Regions from separate parts of the Homo sapiens genome. Here all the other regions are linked to region 3. Evidence: promoter capture Hi-C in 16 types of primary human blood cells and fetal thymus (Javierre and others, 2016). All regions are on one chromosome and are shown on one strand. The core of a region is centred on a gene start or on the middle of the fragment in contact, and the rest is flanking DNA. Distances in the headings are between cores, read along the strand shown. Region 1 has its middle 11 kb from the start of EFNA3. Region 2 holds the start of HCN3 (hyperpolarization activated cyclic nucleotide gated potassium channel 3). Region 3 holds the start of UBE2Q1-AS1 (UBE2Q1 antisense RNA 1). Region 4 has its middle 16 kb from the start of EFNA1.

The links. Contacts are between HindIII fragments. The CHiCAGO score rates a contact against its expected background, and 5 or more counts as called.
Region 1: a contact is called between a fragment that was not itself captured here and the fragment with the promoter of UBE2Q1-AS1 in region 3, in 1 of 17 cell types (neutrophils). The highest score is 6.0, in neutrophils.
Region 2: the fragment with the promoter of HCN3 here is called in contact with the fragment with the promoter of UBE2Q1-AS1 in region 3 in 4 of 17 cell types (naive CD8 T cells, neutrophils, total CD4 T cells and 1 more); the score reaches 7.3 in naive CD8 T cells.
Region 4: a fragment that was not itself captured here is called in contact with the fragment with the promoter of UBE2Q1-AS1 in region 3 in 1 of 17 cell types (endothelial precursors); the score reaches 5.7 in endothelial precursors.

The regions. Positions count from the first base shown.
Region 1 is chr1:155,088,665-155,091,613 of GRCh38, forward strand. No RefSeq gene overlaps it. Among named protein-coding and RNA genes, the nearest start is that of EFNA3, 11 kb to the left of the region's middle. The HindIII fragment of the contact is 7,010 bases long and covers 1-2,949 here.
Region 2 is chr1:155,276,165-155,278,896 of GRCh38, forward strand. It overlaps HCN3 (hyperpolarization activated cyclic nucleotide gated potassium channel 3), which reads left to right and starts at 1,299. Exons shown (of 8, transcript NM_020897.3): 1 at 1,299-1,704. The coding sequence starts at 1,427. The HindIII fragment of the contact is 9,883 bases long and covers 417-2,732 here.
Region 3 is chr1:154,552,126-154,554,992 of GRCh38, forward strand. It overlaps UBE2Q1-AS1 (UBE2Q1 antisense RNA 1), which reads left to right and starts at 1,484. Exons shown (of 2, transcript NR_046668.1): 1 at 1,484-1,547; 2 at 2,525-2,867. It overlaps UBE2Q1 (ubiquitin conjugating enzyme E2 Q1), which reads right to left. Exons shown (of 13, transcript NM_017582.7): 4 at 2,610-2,660; 5 at 907-1,047; 6 at 611-695; 7 at 279-339; 8 at 1-58. The HindIII fragment of the contact is 6,880 bases long and covers 1-2,867 here.
Region 4 is chr1:155,110,213-155,113,011 of GRCh38, forward strand. No RefSeq gene overlaps it. Among named protein-coding and RNA genes, the nearest start is that of EFNA1, 16 kb to the right of the region's middle. The HindIII fragment of the contact is 1,697 bases long and covers 403-2,099 here.

The DNA of each region.
Region 1 (2,949 bases), core at 37-2,536, 540 kb after region 3:
GGTAAGGACTGTGTTTTCTGCTCCTCTCTACCCATAAAACATGGAAAATGGAATCTGAGCTAGACTCTGCAGAGTGGGTGGGTTTCCCAATAGCGGAACAGGGAAGAGTGTGGGGTGGGAGAGCAGGTGGGGAAAGAACTGGGGGCAGCCACTAGACCAGTCTGAGACTCCCTACAGACTGATAAGACAGAAAAGGTGGGCCTATCCATCCAATCGTCCATGCATTCAATCCACATTTATCGAGCACCTGCCGAGTGCCAGGCTCTATCCTGGGTATTGGAGACACAAGATATAGTCTCTACCCCAAAATAAGCTCATACTTTAGTATGTGTTGATGTATGAGCAGAAATTGGTAACACACACATACATAACTGACAACATAACCAGCTCTTTCGTGGGTAAATGCCTGGGAGCTGTGGGAATGCCAAGAAAAAGCACACACTTGCCTAGGGACAGAGGAAAGAGGCTTCAGACAGGAGGAGATACACAGAGCGGGGTCGGGTACTGTTGGGGAGAATCTCGAGGACCCATAGTAGTGGGCCTGGGCTGCAGGCTTGCTTCAATTCCCCGGGCCAGGCAGGATAGGGGCTGGCCAGATGGGATGGGGGAGGGCCTTGCAGATTCAAAAATTCTGGAATAGTAAGACTGAAAGGGCCAAGCACTTTGGGCAGTAACTAGAATAAGCCAGCTTCCATTCACTGAGCACCTCCTATGTGCCGAGTGCTGCGCCTTTGTAAGCCTCACTATTCCAATAACACAGATGAGGATCTAAGACTTAGGGCCACACAGCCTGGCTAATGATAGGGCTGGCATTCAAAGTGGGTCTAACAGGAGGCTGAGGTGGGAGGACCGCTTGACCTCTGGAGTTTAATGCCAGCCCAGGTAATATAGCAAGACCCCATCTTTTATTTTTATTTTTATTTTTTTTGAGACAGAATCTCACTCAGTCGCCCAGGCTGGGGTGCAGTGGCACCATCTCAGCTCACTGCAACCCCCGCCTCCTGGGTTCAAGTGATTCTCCTGCCTCAGCCTCCTGAGTAGCTGGGATTACAGGTGCATGCCACCACGCCTGTCTAATTTTTGTATTTTCAGTAGAGATGGGGTTTTGCCATGTTGGCCAGGCTGTTCTTGAACTCCCGACCTCAGGTGATCTGCCCGCCTCAGCCTCCCAAAGTGCTGGGATTACAGGCGTGAGCCAGTGTGCCCAGCCGACCCCATCTTTAAAAAAACAAAAACAAAAACAAAACAAATGGCCAGGCACAGTAGCTCAGGCCTCTAATCCCAGCATTTTGGGAGGCTGAGGTAGGAGGATCACTTGAGCCCAGGAGTTTGAGACCGGCCTGGGCAACATAGGAAGACTCCATCTCTACAAAAAATAAAAAAAATATCCAGGTGTGGTGACAAACCTTTAGTCCCAGCTACTGGGAAGACTGAGGTGAGAGGATCGCTTGAGCCCAGGAGTTCAAGACCAGCCAGGGCAAAATAGTGAGACCCTATTTCTACAAAAAAAAAAAAAAAAAAAAAAAGCTAGGCGTGGTGGCATGCACCTGTAGTTTTAGCTACTCAGGAGGCTGAGACGGGAGAATTGCTTGAGCCCAGGAGAGCAAGGCTGCAATGTGCTATGATCACACCACTGTACTCCAGCCTGGGCGACAGAGCAAGAGCAAGACCCTGACTCTTTTTTTTGAGGTGGAGTTTTGCTCTTGTTGCCCAGACTGGAGTGCAATGGTGTGATCTCATCTCACCGCAACCTCCACCTCCTGAGTTCAAGTGATTCTCCTGCCTCAGCCTCCCGAGTAGCTGGGATTACAGGCATGTGCCACCACACCTGGCTAATTTTGTATTTTTAGTAGAGACAGGGTTTCTCCATGTTGGTCAAGCTGGTCTCGAACTCCCAACCTCAGGTGATCCGCCCACCTCAGCCTCCCAAAGTGCTGGGATTACAGGCATGAGCCACCGCGCCCGGCTGACCCTGTCTTTAAAATAAATAAATAAGTAAATTGGCAGGCACTGTGGCTCACACTTGTAATCCCAGCACTTGAGAGGCCAAGGCAGGCAGATCATTTGAGGTCAGGAGTTTGAGACCATCCTGGACAACATGGCGAAACCCAGTATCTACTAAAAATACAAAAATTAGCCAGGCATGTGGTGCATGTCTGTAATCCCAACTACTCAGGAGGCTGAGGCAGGAGAATCGCTTGAACCTGGTAGGCGGAGGTTCCAGTGGGTCGAGATCGAGCCACTGCACTCCATCCTGGGCGACAGAACGAGACTCTGTCTCTCAAAAATAAATATCTAAATAAATAATAAATAAATGAAATCAGTTTTAAAAGCTGCGGAGCCCTGCTGAGGATTTTCCCGTCCAGCGAGGCTTTCAATCCCAGAGCATGTAAGGAAGACTGGGGAGAGAGGTCTGCACTTAGATGGCCAGACACCAATGACCCTGAGCCTGTCTGGTACAGGGCCCTACTTTGTGACACCAAGGTCTGCAGAGCCCAGGGCGTCCTGGCCAAGGCAGTGGTAAGATGTCACCAGGCACAGTGGTATGGCCTGAGGGCAGAGCAGCCTCACCCTGGGCAGGGTCTTCTTCACCCTTGTGTTGTCTCATGTTGGCCCCCTCCAGCACAGGCACAAAGAGGGCTCCCACCTGACACGCTGGCATTCCCAGAGGCTGTCACAGGTTAATGCCCCCAACACAGGTAGAGATCGCACACATCCCTCCTCTTCCCGTCCTCCCCAGGGTGAAAAACAACAGCAACATCAAACAACTGAACAGAGATTTTGGCTTGGAGAGTAAAGTTCAGAGCTGCCCCGCCCCTCCCTTCGGGGTGAGAGGTCACTCCAGCAGCGCTGTGGGTAGCAGGGAAGGAGCTATTTACAATCCCGGCTGGGGTCTAAGCCTCGCTGCCACGTGGGTTTGCCACTCGGGGCCTGCAAGTCTGCCGATAT
Region 2 (2,732 bases), core at 49-2,548, 720 kb after region 3:
AGCTCTGAGTTCAAAACCAGCCTGGGCAACATAGTGTGACCTCATCTCTAAAATAATAATAATAATGGTAGCCCTGTGACATGAGTTGCTCAAAACAGTGGTGCCCTGGCTGCTGTAAAAAAGCTCTAGAATAGACCCTACCTGAGGAAAGGAGAGTTGGAAATGTGTTCCTAGGTTTCCTAGAGAAAGCAAGATCTGAACCAACTGTTCGAAAGTGAATTGGAGGAGAATACCAGGCAGAGAAAATATTTGCAAAAGCATAGAGACAAGGCAGCACAAAGTCTTTCAGCATGATTGGGGCTGTGGCTTTCAAGAGAGGGACTGTCAGAAGAGAGACTGTTGAAACTAGGTCCAAATTTTTTGGGCCTGGTACACCATGCTAAGCAGCTTAAATGTACCCCTGTAGAAGATGGGAAAGCTTGATGGGCTTCAAGCAAGTGACACAGCCATAGTTGGATTTTAGGAAGGTAACTGGCAGGGAATGGAAGAAGAATTGGCCTGGAAGAGGTTGAAGACTCTTTTAGAGGTTTCCGAAGTAATTTAAGTGAAAAAATGCTGAGGGCTTGAAATGAGGCAGTGGTAATAAGAATTGGAGATGAAGGGGAGAATTTGAGATATTTAGGAATTTGTAGCACTTCGCATAGCACTGCAATTTACCTGTCTGTCGTTGGGCACAGATGAGCAGTGGCTTTATGGCTAGGCCTTTGTTTTTGTTTTGTTTTGTGTTGTTTTCCATTACTACATGGAGATGCTAAGACTAGGACTTTTGTATTCATTTTTGTTTCCTCAGCATCCACTCAATGACAGGCAGAGTTGCACTTGGTGAAGGCTGACAGAATGAATTAGGAAATTAAATACTAGGGGAAGCAGTTCGGAGGAGACCAAAAGACAAGAATATGCCTAGGACAGTGTTGAGAGAAGACGGGAGCAGGACAGAAGTCCCTGGGCGAGAGTGGAGAAGAATCCCAAAAGCCATTTCCACTTCTTCCATTGGTCCCCAATCCCTCTCCCTCCCAAGTCCTTCAAGCTACAAACCCGCGTCCGATTTTCCCGCCACTGCAGGGGGCTCCTCCTCCCTGGTTCTCAGTGGATGAAAGGCCAACGCTAGGCCACGCCCTCTCCCTGGCTCAGGCTGCGCTCCCCGCCTTCTTTGCTAAGCCACGCCCCTCTCGGAGTTCCTCCAGGATCCCGGCGTCCCAGCCCCGCCCGGTCTTGGCGCGGCCCTCGCCAGGGGGCGCCGCGCAGCCCGCCCGCCGCCCGCCAGTCTAGCACACACCCCCTCCGCCCCGCGCGCCGGCGATTCCGAGCCTACGACGCCTCCGCTAGAGCCCGCGGGGCTGCGCCGACTCCTGCTCTGGAGGGGTTGCGGGTACCTGATGGCCACAGAGGGCTCTAGGAGGCCGAGCGTGTAAGCGGGGTGGGCGCCATGGAGGCAGAGCAGCGGCCGGCGGCGGGGGCCAGCGAAGGGGCGACCCCTGGACTGGAGGCGGTGCCTCCCGTTGCTCCCCCGCCTGCGACCGCGGCCTCAGGTCCGATCCCCAAATCTGGGCCTGAGCCTAAGAGGAGGCACCTTGGGACGCTGCTCCAGCCTACGGTCAACAAGTTCTCCCTTCGGGTGTTCGGCAGCCACAAAGCAGTGGAAATCGAGCAGGAGCGGGTGAAGTCAGCGGGGGCCTGGATCATCCACCCCTACAGCGACTTCCGGTATTGGGGGCTTGGCGGGGAGGGCAGGGTACATCAATCCCACCCTCGCGGGCAGCGACACCGGGACCCGGCCCGCCCCACCCTCCACGGTCACTTCATTTCCAGCCCGGGGTCCCTTGGTGGGGCGGGAGAGTCACTTGCACCAGTCTAGCCTGGGAATTCCTGGGCGGGTATCCCCTGCCGGAGGTCCTCCGTGCCTGGACAGGCTGGGGGCACCAGAAGGGGCAAGCAGACATCAGGGGATCTCCAGAGACCTGGATTTCCTCTTTCAGGAACCCGGGACCCCATCCGGACCAAAGGAACTACCAGAGTTTGGGACCCCTGCCTCCTCCAGTCCTGCTTGCTGGAGATCTAGGAAATTATATTCTAAGTATCGGGGCCAGTCTGAGGGAGAAGCCGAGCTCCGCCATCTCCCATCCCCACACCCGCTCCTTAGCACCTGCCTAGTTCAGCATGACAGACTACCAGGAAAAATAGGGACGCTGAAGGGGGCGGGGGGTCCAGACCTCAGCTCTGGTCGCTGTCCCTAGTGCTGAAGGCGGGGGCGGCGGGGCGGGGCCGAGACTCAGAGTGACTGAGGCGGCAAAGCAGGGGCAGGACCACCACCCAGGTGACTCCCAGAGAAGGAACAGAGGGTGGGGGTGGGGCCATTTCACAGTCTCCGTCAGGGTGTACCTCTACATCAAGGTCGCTAGGGGAAGACAGCAGCCCTGTCCTTGGGGGAAATGAAGGACAGCTCTTGGATGAGGCAGGGATGTGTGCAAAGCACCTAACCTGGGGAACTAAAGAAGCAGAGAGGAAGAGGTGTGAATCTGGAGCCTCGAAATACAGTTGTAGACCCAGACATTATCTTGAATCCACATATATACACACTCCCTCTATGTCTCTCTTCCTCCCATTGTTCCTTTCACTCCTGTCTTTGCTGCCTCGTTCCCACCCAGCCAGTGCGCCTTTTCTAGTCTCCTGTGGATCTCACTCTCTTCCCTCAGTTCACTCGCAGACGGATCCCCAGAAGCCTGGTATCCCTC
Region 3 (2,867 bases), core at 234-2,733:
TCCTTCTTTCTCTTTGAGGATCTGGAGATCGTTGTGCAAAGCGCTGTCCTGGTCAACTCTAAGAAGCAACAAGCCTGGGCTCAGATGCCTGGTTCCACCTCAGGAGCTTCATAAGGGCTCCCCTGCCCTGGCTGGCAGCAGACCACGAAACCACTGCCCACACCCGCTCCGGGACCCTGAATGAAAATGCTGGATGGGGCTGCCCTGGAGATCCCACCACAGTAGCCCCACTCACACTCCTCCTCAACTTCCTCTCCAATCCCAGAGTCCCCACTCACTTGAGGAGTTTGACATTCCAATCATACAGACTGTCATTCACGAGTTCGACTGCATAGTTTCCTGGAAGGAGGGAAAAAACAGGTGTTAGTAGAATGGTCCAGGTGGTGAGTGGTCTCTAATGCAGACCCCTTTCCCAGACTGAGAGAAAAAGATCAACAGCTCTAGGTTCACCACAGATGGACATGCAACCAAGCCACTGGCTTGAGGAGCTCCATTCTTGGCCTGAAAAGTTCATAAGCACTCCTGGACCCCAGAACCTCTTGGGCCCCTTGCCACCATACCCTTCTTTATGGGTGACTCTTGTGCAGGCCCCTCTCTGGGGCAAACTCACCGCCTTTGAAACTCTGTGATCGGTATATATCCCTGAGCTCCTTCATCAGCCGGTCAGTGGCCTGCACCGAGCCAGACACTGCACCCTGTGAGGGACGGATGACAGGAACATTCCTTGGTCGTGTGGTTTATAAACACACGTTAGACCTTAGGGGCAGTCTGGCAGCTTGCCCAGGATTTAAGAAAGGATTAGGCACAAAAAAGGAGTCTGCTCTCCATACTGAGATGCGATGGCCTACTACTTCCCAGCCATTTCCCACCAACCCCTTCACCAGCCTCTCTCTAGAAGGCACGTACATTTAAGTAATCTTGCCTCTGGTTCTTTTTAATTTTCTCTAGGATGGCCAAGTTTTCTTTTCCAATGCCATCATCTTCAGATTTCTTGCCCTCAGCTGGCTCTTCCTCTTTCATTTCATAGTGATCTAAGTCTTCTGTGTCCTGGAGGAGGTGTGGGGTGGGAGTGAAAAGAAAAGGAAAAAAACCGACACAGGTTAGAGAATGACCATCACCTTCCCAGTCCCATTTGGCGAAGAGCCAAAAGTTAAAGTGAAGCAGTCCATCTAGCAGTCTTATAAACGCAACGTGCTTTCCATTTTTAGAACAATTTCCAGCCCCATTCCCTCCACAGTCTAAATCTTCAGCTCTCAAGCTACAGCAAGGACTTCGGAAACGAGCAGAGCTGCAGCTGAGATCGAGGCAGGGACTTAGCCCTCTTGTTTCCTGGACTGACCCTGCTCCAACTGTTCCTAAAACTCCCTTGGCAGCAGAAACTCTTCCCTAATTCCTAGCAGAAATGACTTGGGCCTGACCCTGTGACTCAAAGCTCATGTTTCACCAGGTGACTATTGCACCCGGGAGTTCTCAGGGCCCCAAGCCTAAAGGAGAAACCTGAATCATTACATCTCCTCTCCTCGCTACAAATGCAAGGCATGAATCAGGTATGCAGAGGCACGCACTGCCAGATGGAAATGAGAAAGGATGTCCAGAGAGATATATGGAAGAGGTCAAGAACAGAATTAGCCCCTTATTCATCCTGCTCTAAGTGAGCAAGCAACTAGCTCACTGAGCATAGGGAAGGAGGAGAACCTATGTAGGGTTGAGCCCCTCAGCCAGATGTTGGGGGTGTGGCCCAGAGGGCTGTCCACTATCTGGGAGGAGTAAATTTCATGTCGTCAGCCCTTTGCCAGTCTCAAGAACCTTACACGGTTATAGAACCTGGGATATTAATCTAATGCTAGGAAATAAAAGTAATCAGAGTGATCTCCCCATTTCTGGCAGGACATACCTAATTACCACACCAGCAGGTAATGTCTACTGAGTGTTTATTACATGCCAGGTTCTGTCCTAGGTGCCGCAGATACTAGCTCATTTCATTCTTACCACCATCACTCATTATTCTATCATTATCCATTTTATAGATGCGGAAGCTGAGTCTAGTGAGGTCAATTATCATGCCCAAAGTCACAGCTCTTAGCAGAGCTAAGATTCAGTCAAGTTCTGTCTAGCTCTAAAGCTCAAATTCCTAACCATGATTTTATATTCTGTATGTTTTTAGAGAATATATCAGATAGATTGTTTAGCATTTATCATGTATCATCTGAAGCATTTTATATATAACACCTCATTTAATCTCAAGACAACCATATGCAGTAGGTATTATAATCCTACTTTATAGATAAGAAAACTGTAGCTTAGTGAGATTACATAAAATTCCTCAATTAGGATAGCTAGGATGCAAACACAGGTTTGTTGGACTCCAAAGCCATTTGAAATTAACTTACCCAGTATTTGGTTTGAACCGCGCTGCACCTGTCTTCAGTGGTTGGATATGGGTGCCCTGTCTCCTCTACTACACTGGCTATTCCTCCAGGTCAGTAAATCTGTCTTTATTCCTTTGATATTTTTCTCTCTCCAGTTTTAGACTGGAGTTCTGGATATGGGTACCAATGTTGCTGACTGCAAGAGCTTCCAGCCAATGCCACCTCAGGGGGCAAGCCTACCTCAGGCATCTCCTCATCTTCATCTTCTGAAGACACGTCTTCCTGTGTGCACTGCAGCAAGGAAGGGAAAGATGGAGATCAGAGCCCCAGTGGCTTGCTAGAATGCAGCCTCCAACCTACTCCCCTGAGCCCCCAGGTCTGGAAGTTGTGCGCCTGCCTGTAATGCTGCCAGTCTCTCCACCAGCCAGATCTGAGTGGAAGCAACAGCCCAGGGAATGGCTTTGCTACCAGCCCATTATTTTTCGCCTATCACTGCCA
Region 4 (2,799 bases), core at 1-2,500, 560 kb after region 3:
TCTGTCTCAAAAAAAAAAAACCTTAAGTGTAATGGCTTTTACCAAGTTGGGTCCATGTCAATATGGGTTTTTAAATTTTCTGCAAAGTAATTCCCTTAAAAAAAGAAGAAGAAGTTTAATTCAATAAACATTAACCAAGATCCCACACTGGGCACAGAACTGCAGGGAAGACAACAGCCAAGACACAGTTCTGGTCCTCAAAGGACTTGTGATGGGGAAGGGACACATATTCGGCTAAATTTCAGAAGAGAAAGAACAAAGTAAACATTGTAAAAGACAAAATGTCACAGGGGCCCAGAAGAGAGAGTGATTAATTCGCTCTGTGGGGAGATGGTACGGAGCCAGGCTGGGAAGGATGAGTAGGATTTGACAGCTGGTAAAGGCGTCCCAGGCAGAGGGAAAAGCTTAGGCAAAGGTAGAGGCCACGATGTGCGGGGGTCTAATCGTCACCATCTAATTTACCAAACTGCATGTCGCTCTATTCTAATTATGATGTGTTGTCAAATATTATCACACCTGCTTGCTTCAGAAGTAAAAACCACATACCTGTATTATTAGCCCTGAAGGCCTTTAACTAATGATTTATAATAGAGTAGCTTTAAAAAAGATGCTAATTTCCCAGACTAAACCACCCTCACAGGACCAGAGGCCCCTTACACACATTCCAACACGGGGAACACACACCATGACAACAACAGACCCCTTTTCTCGCTCCTGGTTCTTGCAGGCTCTTCTGCATCTCTGCCTCTAAACCTGGTCGTTAACACGTCCTCCAGGCCACACATGCACATGTATTACCAACGCGCCATCCACCGTGCCAGACAGGAAACACATTTGGAGGATTTTAAACAATTTTAAAATGTGCCCTCAAATTTTACAACTTGCTTGACTTGCCTGAGGGAGGAACCAAGCCCCTTATATAAATGTCACCGCAAACTGGCTTACTCCACATCCCACCCAGCTTGGGAACCTGGGGTTTCTGGGGGGTTGTTTATTTTTATTTTATTTTTCTTATTTTTTTATTTTTTAATATTTCGTCTGTGTCTTCTGTGGGCACTGGCTTTTTAAATCATGTTTATTTTATATGCTCTCCCAGTAGCCAGTGGAGAGGAGACACTTTCCTCATTCCACAGACCACCAGCCACACAGCCAGCCTAGGGCAAAAGCATTTAGCAGGCTCTGGGATGACCTATGAAGAAACATCTCAAGGAGAGGGTTTCCTGGCGGTGAATCAGACAGTTCCTAGACCCAGGTGCTGTGGGGCAGAGGAAAGGCCCCTCTTCTGGCAGCAGGGGTAGGATGGACCCCTCTAGACCTGGGAGGAGTGAAACCTCAGGGCCCCAGCCCCTGGCCTGGTGCCTTATCCACAGGATGCCCTCAGGATACCACACCAGCCTCCTCATCCATTGTCCCTTTCACTGGTTCACAAACGGGGGTCTCCAGTTAACTTCCGCTGTTGATGTTTGTTTGTTGTATTTTTCTCTTCTTTTTTTTTTTTCCTCTCTGTCACCCAGGCTGGAGTGCAGTGGTGCAATCACAGCTCACTGCAACCTCTGCCTCTGGGGTTCGAGCAATTCTTGTGCCTCAGCTTCCCAGTAACTGGGATTACAGGCGCCCGCCACCACACCCAGCTAATTTTCTGTATTTTTAGTAGAGACGGGGTTTCACCATTTTGGCCAGGCTAGTCTCAAACTCCTGAGTTCAGGTGACCCGCCCACCTCAGCCTCCCAAAGTGCTGGGATTACAGGCATGAGCCACCGCGCCTGGCCTTTTTTTTTCTTTTCTTTTTTTAAAGGTTTGTCAGGAGAAAAATGGTGATGAGGCAGAGGGAAGGAAGATCTTGGGTGTGTTCTTGACCTGTGGAAGGGTGTGGGGAGGAGCCAGATGAATGGATTTGATGAGGGCCGTGGGGCCTGGGGGGCCTGGCTCTGCACATTTAGTGACTAAGTACAGCCCAGAGTTGGAGACAGGACTCGCCCCTAACCTGTGCAAGGGGCCCAGCCCCACCTAGTGTGGTAAATTGACGGCTGTGTCCTCAGCTCCCGCCCCCTTATCCTTGACTGCCCTCACCCTAGGCAGGTGGTCCTTTGCTTGGCCCAAGCTTTCTGCAGAAGGACTCGCCTGGGCTGCTGTCCCAGGAGGGGCCATGGCAGGCCATCTATGGGGAGTGTGATGGCTGTGTGCACACTGGAGTCGGAAATTGCCACAGCCAGGAGGAACACCTCACAGGAGCGTGGCTGCCTGCGGGAGGGGCTGAGGAAGCTCCCAAATGGCTCTGTGGCAAAGCCCTCATCCTCAGAGGACTAGAAATCCCGCTGCAGGCCGGGCGGGGTGGCTCATGCCTGTAATCCCAGCACTTTGGGAGGCCAAGGCGGGTGGATCACGAGGTCAGGGGATCGAGACCATCCTGGCTAACATGGTGAAACCCCGTCTCTACTAAAAATACAAAAAATTAGCCGGGCGTGGTGGGGGGCGCCTGTAATCCCAGCTACTCGGGCGGCTGAGGCAGGAGAATGGCCTGAATCTTGGAGGCGGAGCTTGCAGTGAGCTGAGATGGCACCACTGCACTCAAGCCTGGGCAACAGAGGGAGACTCTGTCTCAAAAAAAAAAGAAAAAAGAAAAAAAAAAGAAATCCCGCTGCAGCATAGCATGGCAGCAAGTGTGCAGATCCATCCTCAGTCCAGCCCCAGGGAAGCCTGTCAGGGCCCTGTGGATAGAGGTGACTGTGAATGAAAATTAAAGATGAATCTAAAAATCAGATGATTAAAAAAAAATTGGGCCAGGTGAAGTGGCTCATG